Linked DNA regions of Homo sapiens: all the other regions are linked to region 2. The links are contacts of gene promoters, found by promoter capture Hi-C in blood cells and fetal thymus (Javierre and others, 2016). All regions are on one chromosome and are shown on one strand. Each heading gives the region's core, a stretch centred on a gene start or on the middle of the fragment in contact. The rest is flanking DNA. Distances are from core to core; before and after follow the strand shown. Region 1 overlaps SP100 (SP100 nuclear antigen). Region 2 holds the start of CAB39 (calcium binding protein 39). Region 3 overlaps SP100 (SP100 nuclear antigen).

Evidence for each region. The method cuts DNA at HindIII sites, captures the fragments that hold promoters and counts their contacts. A CHiCAGO score of 5 or more calls a contact.
Region 1: a contact is called between a fragment that was not itself captured here and the fragment with the promoter of CAB39 in region 2, in 1 of 17 cell types (activated CD4 T cells). The highest score is 6.0, in activated CD4 T cells.
Region 3: a contact is called between a fragment that was not itself captured here and the fragment with the promoter of CAB39 in region 2, in 1 of 17 cell types (total CD8 T cells). The highest score is 5.0, in total CD8 T cells.

The regions. Positions count from the first base shown.
Region 1 is chr2:230,432,294-230,435,886 of GRCh38, forward strand. All of the region lies in intron 2 of SP100 (SP100 nuclear antigen), which reads left to right. Among named protein-coding and RNA genes, the nearest start is that of SP100, 18 kb to the left of the region's middle. The HindIII fragment of the contact is 4,820 bases long and covers 1-3,593 here.
Region 2 is chr2:230,711,152-230,714,890 of GRCh38, forward strand. CAB39 (calcium binding protein 39) reads left to right here and starts at 1,691. Exons shown (of 9, transcript NM_016289.4): 1 at 1,691-2,079. It overlaps LOC124907996 (formin-like protein 16), which reads right to left and starts at 2,175. Exons shown (of 4, transcript XM_047446832.1): 1 at 928-2,175. The coding sequence starts at 2,175. The coding sequence ends at 1,417. RefSeq lists a silencer at 1,463-2,402. The HindIII fragment of the contact is 1,861 bases long and covers 1,420-3,280 here.
Region 3 is chr2:230,453,469-230,456,989 of GRCh38, forward strand. All of the region lies in intron 8 of SP100 (SP100 nuclear antigen), which reads left to right. The region is part of intron 3 of LOC101928816 (a long non-coding RNA gene); the gene reads right to left. Among named protein-coding and RNA genes, the nearest start is that of SP100, 39 kb to the left of the region's middle. The HindIII fragment of the contact is 2,265 bases long and covers 736-3,000 here.

The DNA.
Region 1 (3,593 bases), core at 881-3,380, 280 kb before region 2:
GAAATTTGGATTGTTTTTATTTTTTGACTATTATGAATAATGCTGTCCTGGGTATTTGCATACAAGCCTTTGTGTGGATATACATGTTCGTTTCTAGGTAGATATTTAGGAGTGAAACTATTGGGTTCTATAGTAGCATTATGTTTCACTTTTTTCAAATCTGTCTTACAGTGTTTCCGAAAGACCATTTTACAGCAATGTATAAGGGTTCAAGTTTTGCTAAAATTTGTTATTTTATGTCTTTGTAGTCATTCCAGTGAATATATTTTGGTATTTTGTTGTGGTTTGATTTGCTTTTCTCTAATAATGAATGCTACTGAACATCTTTTCACATGTTTTTATTTTTCATATGTCTTTTGGAGAAATATCTGTTCAAATCATTTGTCCATTTTTAATTGGCTTGTCTTCTTATTGAGTTGTCAGAATTCTTTACATATCTGAATACAAGTAGTTTATTAAAAATATGATTGGCTAATATTTTCTCCCAGACTGTGACTAATCTTTTCTTTCTCTTTATGGTATATTTGAGGCACAAAAGATTTAAATTTTGTTAAATTTTAACATCATTTATTCTCTTATGATTATACTTTTGTGGTAGCTAATTCTTTGTCTTACCTAAAGTCACAAAGATTTTTCCTGTGTTTTCTTCCAAAAGTCTTATCATTTTTGCTGTTTTACAAGACTACTGCATAATTTGGGAAACGCAGTGAAAAATGAAAATGGGGGGATCCTTGTTCAAAAATTATTAAGGATTTCAAAACAGTGAAAGCAGAACACTAAACTAAGCACAGAGTCTTTTGTGACTGCACAGGATGCATGCCCATAAAGCCATCCCTGCTTTTACATTTAGAGATGCATGATCCATTTTGAGTTGATTTATGCATATGGTGTGAGGTAAGGGTCTAATTTCATATTTTTGCATGTGCCTATCCAGTTATACTAGTACTATTTGTTGAAAAGACTATCTTTTCCTCATTTAATTGCCTTGGCACTTTTGTTGAAAATCAATTGACCAAAAACCTAAGGATTTATTTCTGCACTCTCAGTTCTGTTGTATTGATTTTTATATATATTTATGCCAGTACTGTCTTGATTCATGCAGCTTTATAGTAAGTGTTGAAATCACAAAGTATAAGTCTTCCAACTTTTTTCTTCTTTTTCAAGACTGTTTTGGATATTCTGGGTTCTTTGCAATTCCATGTAAATTTTAGGATCAGCTTCTCAATTTCTGCAAAAGGCCATTGGAGATTTTGATAGGAATCATACTGAGTCTCTAGATCAATTTGGAGAGAATTACCATGTTAAACATATTGAGTCTTTCAATCCATGAACATTGGCATCACTATTTTGATCTTTAATTTCTCTCATCAATGTTTTGCCATTTTCAACATACAAGTCTTGCATTCTGTTTGTTCAATTTATTTTTAAATGTTTTATTATTTTGCCTACCTTTATTTTTGAATTTGCAAACTCGACTTTTAAATTCCTAAGTTTCCTAGTTGGTTGAATATTATTCATAACTTATTCAATATTATTGAATAATATTGACCTAATATTGAGTCATAGACTTTTGAGTAAGTATATTTAATAACCCCATAACTTATTAGGTCTCAATATTATTAAATAAGTTATGGGGTTATTAAATATACTTACTCAAAATCTTGTTCTGTTTACTGTATTATTTCTTTTCTCTGATATTACCTAAAAAATGGTAAAAGAAAGATCTGAAGGGACCTGGTTAGAACCCTGAAACTGTCCACTAAGCCAGTGTTGACACCTGGGGTGTAGTGGTTCCATGCCTTCCCTAACATTTATTCTGAATTTTATATACAAATGAAAGACTTTTTTAGTTTAATTTATATAAAAATTAGATCATAATATATTGATCTAAACATGATGTTTTCACTGAACAACAAAACTATGACTGTCTATCCAAATTACTAGAATTAAATAGCTATGTAATAGTTCAACAGTGTATATTTACAATAATGTACTTAACCAGTCAGCTGAATACACAATTAGGTTGTTTTCAGGTTGAGGAGTATGTGTTATTGTTGAGGGGTTTTTGCTGGTAAAAACAATGCTTCAACAAAAATTTTGCATTTATGAGCATCTAATCAACAAATATTTATGGAACACCTTGTATATATCAGATACTCAAGAAAAATCAGTGGACAAAACAGACAAAATCTCTGCCCTCATGGCATATATATTTTTGGGGGAAAAGAGACAATAAAGAATATGATAAACAATAAATACACAAATAAGTAATTCATTTAGCATGTTAGGGAGTAGTAAGGGCATGAGAAAAAAAAATAGAGGCAGATTAGGAGCTTGGGAGTGTGGGGGCAGGCTAAGGGGATTGTGATTGTGATTTTTAGATAGGTTGGTCAAAGCAGGCCTCATTGAGAAGGTGATAGTGAAGCAAGGATCTAAAAGAGACAAGGGAGTTAGTTCACTACATAGATATATGTGTCTATGCTAAGTAGAGAAAATAGCCAGTATCAAGTCCCTAAGGCTAGAGAATCTCTGGTGTAGTCAAGAAACAGCAGAGGCGAGTGTGGCCCGACAGACATGAGCAAAAGGAGAGGAGCAAAGGATGTATCATTTCAGACCCTTTGAACAGTGTAAGGATCTGGCTTTCACTCATGAAGAAATTGGGAGCATTGAAAGTTCTGCAGTTCTTGTTTTTATAAGATGGATGTTGTCTTTTTATTTCTATACGATAGATTCCAAAAGTGGATCTGCATGGTCAGTCTGTAGTATATCTTAAAATTTAGTAGATGTTGCCACATCTTTTCTGAAAAGGCTGTAGTAATTCATGCTTACACCAGGGATGAGTAAGTGTCTGTTTTTCTGAATCTTCTCCCTCGTGACATAGTGTCACTAATGAAATTGTGTTTGCCAATCTAATGGGTGAGAAATGGTTTCTCATTGATATTTTAGTTTTTATGTATTCATATGTTTATTAGACATTTTCATTTTCTCTTATTTAAGCTGCCTGTTCAGGTCCATTTTGGAGGAGTTATTTGTTGCTTTTTATTAATAGACTGTAGTCTTTGCCCATTAATATCAGATATATTAACCCTTTGTCATATATATTGAAAATGCTTTTCTACACTCTTTTATATCTGTATTGCTTTTTAAAAACATTTTAACCTATTAAGAGAAATCTTCCTTTAACTATTCTCTTCTCAAATGTTTTTTGTCTGACTCAGATATTTGTTCTGTCATTTAAATATTTACATTATTTGATTCAGCTTTTTTTCCAACTTTTATTTAAGTTCGGGGGTACATGTGCAGGATATGCAGATTTGTTACACAGGCAAAAGTGTGCCATGGTGATTCGCTGTGTGATTCATTCCATCACACAGGTGTTAAGACAAGCATTCACTAGCTCTTCTTCCTGATCCTCTCCCTCCTCCCAGCCCCCACCCTCTGAAACACCCAAGTGTGCATTGTTCCTCCTGTGTCCATGTGTTCTCATCATTTAGCTCCCACTTATAAGTGAGAACATGCAGTCAGCACTATTCACAATAGCAAAAACATGGAATCAACCTAAATCGCCATCAATTATAGACTAGAGAAAGAAA
Region 2 (3,739 bases), core at 441-2,940:
GTAGCTGGGGTTATTTTTGTATTTGTAGTAGAGACGGGGTTTCAACATACTGGTCAGACTGGTCTCGAACTCCTGACCTCAGGTGATCCCCCTGCTTCGGCCTTCCAAAGTGCTGGGGTTACAGGTGCGAGCCACCACGCCCGGCCGGACAGTCTTATCTTTTGGCTGGCTGATTTCAACAGGCTTCTCGCTGGTCCCCCTGCTGAAACCCTCAGGGCTTTCAGTCTGGTCCTCATACCACAGCCACAGGGATCCTCCTGAAATGTCATTCCACGTCCTTTCTCTGCTCGCAACCCTTCAAATTGCTTCCCATCTCCTTGAGAGTAAAAACAGGAAGTCCTAACTTTGGTTGGTAGGGCCGCACTTCTTCCTCATCTCTTCCCCTATCTGGGGCCGCTTTCAAGCCAGCAGATTCTCGCCTCAGGGCCTTGGTCCTGCTATTCCCTCTGCCTTTCCATACAGAAAGCTCCCAGGCTCTCTCTCTCCAGGAAGCTGCTCCCTGAATGAACACTGTAAATAACAACACCCTGCTTTCTCTCCCCTCCTCACCCAGTGGTGTTTTTAACTGTCCAGTATTTGTTTTTTTGTTGTTGTTTTTTGTTTGTTTTGTTTTTGTTTTTTGGAGATAGTCTCGCTGCGTCGCCCAGGCTGGAGTGCAGTGGCGCGATCTCGGCTCACTGTAACCTCCGCCTCCCGGGTTCAAGCGATTCTCCTGCCTCAGCCTCCTAAGTACCTGGGAATACAGACGCCCGCCACCACGCCCGGCTAATTGTTTTTTGTATTTTTAGTAGAGATGGGGTTTCACGGTGTTGGCCAGGCTGGTCTTGAACTCCTGACCTCGTGATCCGCCCACCTCGGCCTCCCAAAGTGCTGGGATTACAGGCGTGAGCCACCGCGCCTGGCCCAATTGTCCAGTATTATACATACCTGTAGGTTTATTAGTCAATTATTTGTCAACTGTTTGTGCTAGGAGCATGGACTGTTTCGCTCACTGCCCCATCCCTGACGTACAGGAGGCGCTTAAAAAGTAGTTCAGTTACACATTAAAAACAAAGAAACAAAAATACACACATATGGCATTTGTATGTGCCAGGCTCCGTTGTCAGAGCTTTGCAATGCACTGTCCCGTTCATCCTCAGAAGCCCGTGGCTGGTACCACTATATTATTACACACTTTTTTTTTTAATGTGTGAGGAAATCCAGGCACAGGGACGTGAAACAGCCCATAGATAGCAAATGGTGGAGCAGGACTTAAATCCAGGTTGCTGATTTAAATAGGAATATTCCCATTAATCTGGAACGTTCTGGCACTTGTCCCCCTGGATGCTGTGTCCCCCTGGATGCTAAAATGAAGCGATCTGCTCCAAGAAAGTAAGAATCGGTCTGCACAAAGTGGGATCCCGGCCTCTCGCAGAATTAAGCTTGAAGAGTTGAGGAAGTGGTCGTTGAAAGTGGGCGTGCGATTCCCGCAGTAAGAGCGCTCAGGCGGAGGAGAAAGGGCTGAGCCCCGCCTTGGAAGCTGCGGCGGAGGAAGAGGAACTGCGGGGCTTGGCTTCTGCTTTTCTCTGCGGCCCCTCCCGCTCGGGCCTCGCGCCTACTTGCGGCGCCCTGAGTCCGCCGGCCGCTCGGGGGCGCCCGAGGCGGAAGGGGGCGTTGCGGCACCGCCCGACGTCGCGTCCTCGGCGGCTGCGCAGTGCGCACGTCAAAGCCGGGCTCGGGCCGCAAGCGGGGCGAGGGGTTCGGGGAGCGGCGCGGCCTGGGAGACACAGAGCCTTCAGGCGCCGGGGCGGGGGCACAGGCGAAGACTAAGGCGGCGCCGGGCCCCACAGCAGCAGCCGCAGCCCAAGCGAGCGCAGCAGCGCGGCGGCAGCCGCGGGAGCCCCTGGGCAGCCGTCCGCCCGCGCAGCCGCCGCCGCCGCGGGAGCCCGTCGCCGGGAGCAGGAGCGGGCGGAAGACAACGGAGGGGCCGAGCGTCCGAGCCACTCCGCGGGGACCGAACGAGCAGCCCGAAGCGGCGGCGGCCGAGGACGGGGACAGCGACGACGCGGAGGCAGAGAAGGGAACGCCCGGCCCAGCCCCGTGAGTGACCCCCGGCCGGCCCTGCTCGTGGTGCGGACGCCTGCCCGGCTTCCGCCTGCCCCGCTGGGCCCTCACCGGCCCCGGGGCTGCCTCCATTTTCCTGGGTGGCGGCGGCCCCGGCCCAGCTTGTCCCCGGAGCCCCCGGGAGCAGCCGGGCCCAGCCTGCCCTCTCCGCCCGGCTCGGCTCCGGTCCCTCGCTGAGACGCTCCCTTTGCCTTCGCCGGCGTGGGGCGCCCGGGGGCCTGCAGTCCAGGCGCTCCTGCCTCTCCCCCCGTGGTTCTCTGGCGGGGCTGGCGGCGCGTGGTGGTCCGGGCCGGAGTCGGGCGGGCGGGGAAGTGCGGGCCGGGTCAACTGTCACCGGCTGCACCCGGGCTTCAGCGCCTCGCTCCCGCCCCTGGTAAACTTCCTGTTGTCGGGAGGCAGATACCAGCTTTGTGACCAATTCAGGAAAATGCCTAACTGATTTCTGGTTAGGAATTGGGCGGTCGGAGCGTTCTGGAGTTCAATGGAACCACCCCAAGCGCAGACTGCGTGCAGGCGCCGTAGTCGGCCCGCACCGGAGGGATTCAAAGGTGAAGCGGGCCCCGGTCCCCTCCCCCGAGGAGCTTAGGCTCTGGTGTGAGAGATAAGACGAGAACACAAATAACTGCGATACCGGGAAGGAGGTGATAAGTCCTGTGAAAGAACGACGGAGTGCTAGAACGGCACCCGGAAAAACCGAACCGATCACTTCTGCCTCGCAGAAACCTGGAAGGCTTCCTGGGCGGGGGATGCTGAGCAGAGTCTTGAAGGCCTGATGGGATTTAGGAGAGGAGGATTGCAGAAGAGGTGTGTGGAAGGGGTAGCAAAAGCGAGAAGACAAAGCCTAGAAATCATGGATAATTCCGTTTGTTGGCATGGTGCAGGGGGCGGGGGGTATTGGGCTAAAGAGGTATTTTGGGGCCAGATCCTTGAATGCTGTAGAGGAGCTATTTGAGCAGCATTCTAAGAGAAACTTAGAGCTCATTTCTCAGTGACTCATGAGCCCGGAAATGTAGGCTAGGGGATATTAAAGGCGCTCTTGTGAAAGGAGAGAGGAGGAGGCCCAGTCAGGAGTTGACATTCTGTGCCTTGAATGTAATGCAGTTTCAGATCGATTTTGACAGCTTCCCAGATAATCAAGTAAATCCATGCCCAGGCTAAGCAAAGTACCTTTGCAGAAAGCTTCATTAGATATCAGGCTCTTAAGAGGTAATGGAAAGGTGTCTATAAAATAAGCTCATCTGCACACAGAAGGTGTTTCTATTTGTGCGTTCGCTACAGTGCATAAAAACTTCTTGCACTTTGTATTAGGCGTATGTACTTTGGAATTACTAAGCTAAACCTACATTCTTTGAGGTGGCATTTGTGTAAAATAACATAAATTGATGATTTTTAAAAAATGGTTAGTAATATTCTGCTGTAGAAAGCCAGACGTAGACCTTTTACAGAAAGGTAAAACTTTGTTTTTATATTTTATTTTATTATGAAATCTTTATAGTAGAGCCAGAAGTGAAAGTGTTTAGCTTTATTTTGTAGTTTGTTCAAATTGTTAGGAAGTAATTAGCAGCTGTATTCGAAATCTAGAATATACGATCTGTGAAAGCAGCTTAGGGCCTAAGTTTTGTAAGCTTGCACTTGT
Region 3 (3,521 bases), core at 618-3,117, 260 kb before region 2:
TGTCCTGAGATACATTTCTTCTATATCTATTTTGCTGAGAGTTTTTATCATGAAAAAATGTTGAATTTTGTCAAATGCTTTTCCTACATCTATTGAGATGATCATATGGTTTTTGTCCTTCATTCTATTAATGTGGTGTATGACCCTTTAGATATGTATATGTTAAACCATTCTTGCATCCCAGTGATAAATCTTATTTGATCATGGTGTTTAATGTGCTACTGAATTTGATAGTATTTTATTGAGGATTTTTCATATACGTTTATCAAGGATAGTGGCCTATAATTTTCTTTTCTTGTAGTGTTCATGTCTAGCTTTGGTATCAGGGTAATGCTGGCTTCATAAAATGAGTTTGGAAGTAGTCCCTCTTATTCAATTTTTAAGAAGAGTTTGAAAAAGATTGCTATTTGTTCCTTAAATATTTGGTAGAATTCAACAGTGAAACCATCTGGTCCTGAACTTTTGTTTGGTGGGTGGTATTTTATTATGGATTAAATCTTACTCATTATTGGTCTGTTCAGATTTTCCTGTTTCTTTGTTATTCAGTCTTGGTAGGCTGTGTGTGTTTAGGAATTTATCCATTTCTTCTAGGTTATCCAATTTGTTGGCATTAAATTGTTTATAGCAGTGTCTTATGATTCTTTGTATATATGTGGTATGAGAAAGGTAGTGTCTCCTCTTTCATTTCTGATTTTATTCATTTGAGTGTTTTCTCTTTTTTCTTAGTCTAGCTAAAGCTTTCTCAATTTTGTTTATTTTTTCAAAAAGCCAGTGCTTTGTTTTGTTGATCTCATTTTTTTCTAGTTTTGAACTCATTTATTTCTGATCTGATATTTATTGTTTCCTTCTTTCTGCTAATTTTTGCCTTAGTTTTTCTTCTTTGTCTGGTTTCTTGAGGTGTAACATTAGGTTGTTTGAGATCTTTCTTCTTTCTTTATGTATTCTTGTGTTTATTGCTATAAACTTCCCCTCTTGTAACTGCTTTTGCTATATCCCATAAGTTTTGATATGTTACATTTCTATCTTCATTTGTCTCAAGATTTAAAAAATTTTTTCCCTTTAATTTCTTCATTGACCCATTGGTTATTTGGGAGTGTACTTAATTTCCATGTATTTGCAAATTTTTCAAAATTCCTCGTTATTGATTTCTAATTTCATATCATTGTGGTCAGAAAGTATATCTGATATAACTTCAGCCTTCTTTACTTTGTTAAAACTTGTTTTGTAGCCTAACATATGATGTATCCTGTAGAATGTCTCATGTACAATTGAGAAGAATGGTACTTTTCTGCTTGTAGATAAAATATTCTATATATGCCTTTTAGGTCCTCTTGGTCTAAAGTATAGTTTAAGTTTGATGTGTTCTTATTGATTTTCTCCCTGGACAATCTGTCCACTGCTGAAGGTAGGGTGTTGAAGTCCCCTAGTATTATTGTATTAGTCTCTCTTTCCTTCAGATCTATTAATATTTGTTTTATATATTTAGTTGCTCAAATATTGGGTGCATATGTTTACAATTGTTATATCATCTTGATAAGTTGACTCCTTCATCATTACATAATGACCTTCTTATTTTCTTTCTTTCTTTTTGTTTCTTTTGTTTTTTGTTTTAGTTTTTGTTTTGGAGACAGGGTCTTGCTCTGTCACCCAGACTGGAGTGCACTAGTGCAATCATGGCTCGCTGCAGCCTCAACCTCCTGGGCTCAGGCAATCCCCCCAAGTAGCTGAGATGACAGGCATGTACCATCACATCTGACTAATTTTTTTTAGTTATTTATAGAGACAGGATTGCCTTATGTTGCCCAGGCAGGTCTCAAACTTCTGGGCTCAAGCAATACTTTCACCTCAGCCTCCCAAAGTGTTGGGATTACAGATGTAAGCCACCATGCCTGGTTTTATCATGACCTTTTTTGCCTTGTTTTATATTATTTGATTCAAACTGTATCTCATCTGACGTAAGTACACCTGTGCTTTCTTTCTTTCATTTCCATTTGCATGAAATATCTTTTTCTATCTTTTCACTTTCAGTCTATGTGTTTCCTTAAAAGTGAAGTGAGTGTCTTGCAAGCCACATATACTTGGTTCATGATTTTTAAATTCATTCAGCCACTCTATGTCTTTTGATTGGAGAATTTAATTTATTTACACTTAATATAATTACTGATAGGTAAGTACTTTCTAAAACCATTTTGTTTATTGTTTTCTGGTTGTCTGTAGATTCTTTATTCCTTTCTTTCTCTCTTACTGTCTTCCTTTGTGATTAGGTGATTTTCTCTAGTGATACACTTTGATTCCTCTTTATCTTTTGTGTAATCACTGTAAGTTTTTGCTTTGTGGTTAACATGAAGTTTACACAAAACATCTTATAACAGGCTATTTTAAGCTGATAACAACTTAATTTTGATTGCCTACAAAAACTGCACTTTTACTTTGCTCCCTCATTTAAAATGTTTGATGTCAGAGTTTACAAGTTTTATATAGTGTATACTCTAAAAAATTATTGTAGCTACTATTTTTTGACTATATATTTACTTTACCAGTTAGTTTTATACTTTCTTATATTTTTATATTATTAGTTAGCATTTACTTCTTTCAGCTTGAGCATTTCTTGTAAGACAGGTCTGGTGGTAATGAATGTATTCATCTTTTGTTTTCCCGGGACGGTCTTTATCTCTCCTTTATTTCTGAAAGACAGCTTTGCCAAGAAAAGTATTCTTGGTTGTCAGGTTTCTTTTTCTTCCTTTGGCACTTTGAATGTTTCATCTCATTCTCTCCTTATCTGTAAGGTTTGTGCTAAAAAGTCCACTGTTGTCCTTATTAAAACTCCCTCATATGTTAGTTGCTTCTTTTCTTTTGTTGCTTTCAGGATTCTCTCTTTGTCCTTGAATCTTGACAGCTTGATTATAGTATGTTTTGGTGTAGTCGTGTTTGCACTGAATCTGATTGGAGACCATTGACCTTCTTGTACCTGGAAATTTATGTCTTTCACCAGATTGGCAAAGCTTTATACTATTATCTCTTTAAATTAACTTTCTACTTTTGTCTTTCTCTTCCCTTTTATGAATTCCTGTGATTCAAATATTTGCTCTTTTGGTGTGTTTCATAAATCCTGTAAGCTTTCTTCATGACTTTTCATTCTCTTTTCTTTTTCTTCTCTGATTGTATTTCAAATAACCTGTCTTTGAGTTCATATTCTTTCTTCTGCATGATCAATTCTGCTGTTGATGCTCTCTGATGCCTTTTTAAATTTCATTCATTGTATTTTTCAGCTCCAGAATTTGTTTGATTTTTTAAATAATTTCAATATCTCTGTTAAACTTTCTCATTTTGGTCATTTATTGTCTCCCTAATTTTAGTGAATTGTTTCCTATATTTTCTTAAGGTTTGCTGAGATTCCTTAAAACAATTATTTTGAATTCTGCATAAGGCAGTTTGTTATCTCCATTACTTTGGGGTCTGCTATGGGGAGATTATTGTGTTCTTTTGGTCATGTTGTGTCTCTTTGGTTTTTATGTTTCTTG